Regions from separate parts of the Homo sapiens genome. Here region 2 is linked to region 1. The links are contacts of gene promoters, found by promoter capture Hi-C in human tissues and cell types (Jung and others, 2019). All regions are on one chromosome and are shown on one strand. Each heading gives the region's core, a stretch centred on a gene start or on the middle of the fragment in contact. The rest is flanking DNA. Distances are from core to core; before and after follow the strand shown.

Region 1 (2,895 bases), core at 250-2,749:
TATCTCAGCATGCTATCATAGAAGAAAGTCTAGTTTGTACGCTAAAAGATCTAGCATCTTTATGAACTTAGTTACTACATCAACACAATTATATGATCTAGGACAAGTCATTTGGTCTCCATACAGTTTAGTTTCTTCACTTATAAACTGACAAGGGGTTGAACTAGATTATTTCTTGCCAGGCCTAATATTCTATAATTTTTATAAAATCCATCAATAATGGGGTCACCACAAAGAAGGAAACATTTCTGTGATAGTTTCTCAAAAGTACCCTGGCCTGATCCTTCACTGCTACACGTCCCTGGACAAGTAGGTCTTTAACTTGCTACATTCTCTTCATTGTCTTTAACCACCCAGTGAATATCTCAAAAAATACCAAGAATTGGTTAACTAAAGTTTATACAATAACAAGATAAGCTTTTCACAAATATGTCTTATTTATTATTATTTATTTGTTTAAAGTTATAAGACATAAATTGGGCAACTCTTTTAACAAATTATTTTATCTGAGACACCGTTTACTTCAACCAAGTCACAAATAACCTGATTTTGTTATTAAATAACCTCTCAAAAAAAAAATTCAAGTTCTACTGTGTTTAGCTAGCAAGAGTTCTGTTTTGCATTTAACATATCTAAAAGGCCTCATGCACAATATAAGTAAATAACTCTTCTCACTACACAAGTAGATGCTAAAGCAACCTAGAGATTGAATAACTTCTGTGAGATCCTGCAGTGTCTGAAACAGACAGTATCTTTTTCAATCTTCTTTATTTTGTAAATTCCATCAGCTTAAAATGAAAAATTCTAACTATTAACCTCTCTAACTTCACTCTTGAGATCTTTCTTTCTGCCATTCAATTGGCATGAATAGTTCTCAAAGGAAGTGGAGAGCCATGAAAGCAAAGGATCTGAGCATGTCACGCAGCTCCTGTTCAGCCTGCCCTCTTAGCCTTTCTATAATCAAGGGCTTAGCTGGCCATGCACCTTTAAATCGTTTGATCTCAAGCAACAATTTGTGAACATGAGCATAATAAAAATTTTGGAACATAGAATGTGTTTAGAAATTTCCAATACCTTGAGAGGCCTTTGAGAGTTAAACTGCTCAAAACGAAAACAGTGAAGGAGTAGGTGACCAGTGTTAAAACAATTAAGTTAAAGCTTATGGACACTAAACATTCTCTTCTGTGATTTCTGATCCCCAAACATTTGCTTTCAAAAGTAGGCTTTCTTGTTTGGGTCCTTTTTGTCAAAATAATGAGAACACTTAGTAACAAGCAGAGGAGCATACCTTGATCCTGAGCCGTCATTTCTGCCGTGATAATCACAGGTGCACTGTGAAGGACACAAACAGCCCACTCCTTCCAAAAAGCTAAGGACAATGCACAGACATGCAAAGAGATGCATTGCTCCTTTTAGAGGTTATTTAAACAAAAGGTAAAAACCGAATCCTAAGCATTCAGAACCTGGTATGCCTGGAATACAAACAGCCATTTAGTAACAGCAGATTACACGGGATTAGCTGAGATCTGTAGTTACTTAACCTTCAAGTGTATCTTGCAGGAGATCAATTGATCCAGCCTTTGAATACAGTTTCAGCAAAGTAACACATTCTAAGGAAAATGAAAATCAAACACATGACAAGCAATTTCAATAGTTACCCGTAACTAGATTTGCAAGAAAATGCCTATTAAATCCCTTTCTTCTGGATGTACTTGCCACTACACCTTAAAAATATACTTAATGTAAAATAATTCAGTCTTGGCAGATGCAAGAAAATTCTGTAGATTATTTACATGTTACAACATTATAAAATGTTTTGCATTTGGTTTTTGCCAGAATGTGTTACTAATTCAGTTTTACAAAATTTAGTTTTAAAAATAGAAGCACATGACATAAAAATGATTTAGAAAAGAGTTATCGATGTTGCCACATACTGGCTATCTCTAAAAGTAAAGTAAAACAAGTCAGTTACACAGATTTTATAGGGAAAATGCTTCAATCCACTACTGATGTGGCAGGACTAAGTTCTCCAATAAGAACGTGTTCTGAGACTCTTCCAGGTCATCTCAGTGTGTGGAAGGTTTATCCCAGCACATTTATTTTTAATGCAGGCAACTATCTCTGTTCAATAGTTTCCCAAGTTATCAGCATCAAAGCCATATTTGAAGATCAACTCTAATTCTTTCAGCTATATTAGGCTCTGTCAGAAAATAAAAATTAAATGTAATTAAATTTAAAAGTATCTCCACACTCATAGAGTGGAGAATCCACAGGGACAATCAAGGATTTAAGTAATAAATATACGTCATTTAACCTTCTTAGTGGCTGCTTCTAACCATCCTCTTTAACTAAAAACCTTTTTAAAAGAAAATTAATTCTATAAAAATAAGCATATTATAGAAAATGTTATTTAAAACCAATAGAATGTATATAAAAACCATACAGTCTGAAAAACTGTGCTCAATTAAAATAAAATACTGCAGGTTTTCAGATTCTGCACAACTCGTTTGTTCATCAAATATTTACTGAGTACTTATTCTCTGCTGAGCATTGAGGGGTACAAAGATAAATAAGACAGTTATTACACATAAGGAACTCACACGATAAAGGGAGGAACAGACTACTAAAGAAGCACGAGAAAAGAGCATCAAACCCAGCCTGTGTTAGTCAAGCAAGACTTCCTAGGGTGGGTGGTGCCTGGCTGCCTTTTACAGGGTGCATGACGATGTATTATGGGAAAATCCAGAAAGTTGCATTGCAAGCAAAGGGAATAGTGGGAACAAAGGGAGGGAAGTGAGAAACAGTGTATTGTCCTCAGAGAATTTCAAGCACTTCTTGTTGCTCAGGCATAAGATTTTGAGGCAGGAAGTTAAAAAAGATAAAGCTGGAGAGATA
Region 2 (2,895 bases), core at 214-2,713, 1.2 Mb after region 1:
AGCCAATTCTTATATTTTCCTGAAGGGTTACATTGAGCAATTCATTGAATATTTATTGAGCATGTATTATGTCCAGGCACTGATCTATGTCTTGCCTTCATGTAGCTTATATTCTAATCTAGATAAATAAAATGAACAAGGCAATTATATAGTATGATAAACAGCACTGAGTGCTATGGAAAAGAAATTAGAAAGGTAGAAGCTGTAATTTTTAAACAGAGAAGGAAAGCTTCATTGAGAAATGACCTTTGAACAAAGACTTGAAGGAAATGAGGGAATGAGCCATCTGGGTAGAGGGAGAGGAAAGGCCATGAGGCAGGGTGTGATTGGTGTGTTTGAGGAACAGTAAGGAAGGCAGTATGGACAGAATGAACTGGAGGACTAGGAGATGAGATCAAAGGATGGAGAGGGGGAAGAGGCGATGTACAGGGCCTTTGGGGCCACTATTAGGAGTTGGGCTTTTATCATGAAGATTTTATCTGAAAGATTTTAATCAGAGGAATAAAACTTTAGCCAATCAAATCAGGAAGTGGCTTTGGTGAGTAGAGCCAAAACAGTGGGAAATGAGTGAACCTAAAACGTCTCTTAAAGAAGAGTTTGAGGCACTTCTTTCCTTTACTGAAATAATCTTGCAAAGGCTCCTTCTAATCTGGACAGTGCAGGAGAAACCTTGGTTTGGGGGATTTTCTTTTTATGGTCTGGCCTGATCCTCCTGCTTCTATCTCCTGTCTATCTGCAGACCCACCACAGCACAAGTGAACAGATCCCGGGGATCAAACGTAGCTCACCTTGATTGGAGTTGGGTGTTCCCCAAATTTTCAGTTCCACATTATTATGATTTCTCAGCTTATAATCCAAGATAGCGAATCACCTCTATTTTAGGAACATTTTACCAGCTTCATAAAGGGGTTCTCGTTTCTCATTTTTCTAAGTTTATAGTATAGCTTACCTCATTACTGAAGCCATGAACCACCTATATGAGTAAATTTCCTTGATTTATCCTCTTCTCATGCCTGAATTTAGTAAAATGAAATATAAAAGCTGCATTATCAAAAGAAACATATGTACATATAATCTTGCACATACAGTTTGGGTAGAATTAAACTAACATGCTTCCAAAGGGAAGTTATATGAAAAAATACTTTTCTAAATTTCAAATAAATGAGGCCATGTTAAATATCTATAATTAGTCATAGGTAAAGCAATGAACATACCCTTTGTAAACTTTAAAGCATTCTCCAAAAGTTATTTCTATATAAGTCCCCAAACATATGTCAAGATAGATATAAGATATATGTAATATATAATATTATATATTTTTTGGCCATGGTGGCTCACACCTGTAATCCCAGCACTTTGGGAGGCTGAGGTGGGCGATCACTTGAGGTCAGGAGTTCCAGATCAGCCTGGCCAATGTGGTGAAACCCCATCTCTACTAAAAATACAAAAATTAGCTGGGCATGGCGGTGCGTGCCTGTAGTCCCAGCTACTCGGGAGGCTGAGGCATGAGAATCACTTGAACCTGGGAGGAGGAGGTTGCAATGAGCAGGGATTGCACCACTGTACTCCAGCCTGGGTGACAGAGTGAGACTCTGTCTTAATAATAATAATAATAATAATAATAGATACTAACCATTGTGCATATTGCTCAGATGCAAAGGCAAGTGAGACTAAACTGATAAAACTTCTAAGTGCTACGACAAGTGGGTATGAATATATAGCTAGAGGTATGGTGCAGAAAATTTTGTAAAGTAACTAAGAAATAGAATCAGACCCTGAACTTAGGCACTTTCCAATCTAGTCAACTCTTTTTTAAAAAATATTAAAAGATTATTATTCCTTTGAGGCCAAATAAGGACACGTTCCTAGAAGACCCCGTTGTGGTTAGGAGCAGAGGCTATGGATCTCTACTGCAGGCTTGCCACCTAGGACCTGTGCAATCTTTGGCAAGTGACTTAATCTCTCTGAACCTCAGTTTTCTCATCTATGAAATGGCCTTAGTTGTACTATCTCATAGCATTTTATGAGGATGCAGTGAGTTAATATGAAAAGTGCTTGGAACAATATCTGGCATACAGTATTCTCTTAATAAATGTTATGCTCTTAATAAATGTTAGCTATTTTTATTACCCATATTTCCTTGAACAACAAAGCTTTTCACAATCAAAGAATAGCTTCTCAAGGAGAAGAATTAGGGGTTAAAAGGGTTAAAAGTTCTGAAGAATGAATCAGCATTTTTCTCTCCCTTGTCTTTCCCTGTCTGTTTAGCAACACTGATTAACAGCTCAGAGGAAGAGGTCCAGAATGAACTTGAATGACAAGGAAAACAACTAATCTTCCCTAGGCAATATCCTTATTAAAGTTTCACTTTAGTAACAACCAGGTTTTCACTGAGACAGGTTGGTTGGGGTGGGGTGGGTAGAAAAGGAAAAAGTAGGCCAGGCACGGTGGCTCACGCCTGTAATCCCAGGACTTTGGGAGGCTGAGGCAGGCGGATCACCTGAGGTCAGTAGTGCGAGACCAGCCTGGCCAACATGGTGAAACCATGTCTCTACTAAAAATACAAAAATTAGCCAGGTGTGGTGGCAGGCGCCTGTAGTCCCAGCTACTCGGGAGGCTGAGGCAGAGAATTGCTTGAACCAGGGAGGCAGAGGTTGCAGTGAGCCGAGATCGCGCCACTGCACTCAGCCTAGGCAATGAATGAGACTCCATCTCAAAAAAAAAAAAAAAAAAAAAAGGGAAGAGAAAAGAAAAAATAGATCTGCCTCGACATGCGAGACCTGAAAGACCCAGAGATACAGATTCCTTTTCTGGGCCACTTGTCTGCACTTCTGAAAATGCTGACCAGGTGTGGCACACAGGCTATGGGACACCAAACCACATGGTCCAGACAGA

The links. Contacts are between HindIII fragments. The study calls those that stand out against the background at their distance.
Region 2: a fragment that was not itself captured here is called in contact with the fragment with the promoter of LRIT3 in region 1 in 1 of the 25 tissues and cell types used here (spleen).

What each region holds. Positions count from the first base shown.
Region 1 is chr4:109,846,711-109,849,605 of GRCh38, reverse strand. LRIT3 (leucine rich repeat, Ig-like and transmembrane domains 3) reads right to left here and starts at 1,499. Exons shown (of 4, transcript NM_198506.5): 1 at 1,289-1,499. The coding sequence starts at 1,404. The HindIII fragment of the contact is 6,154 bases long and covers 789-2,895 here.
Region 2 is chr4:108,684,613-108,687,507 of GRCh38, reverse strand. No RefSeq gene overlaps it. Among named protein-coding and RNA genes, the nearest start is that of OSTC, 35 kb to the right of the region's middle. The HindIII fragment of the contact is 4,266 bases long and covers 1-2,895 here.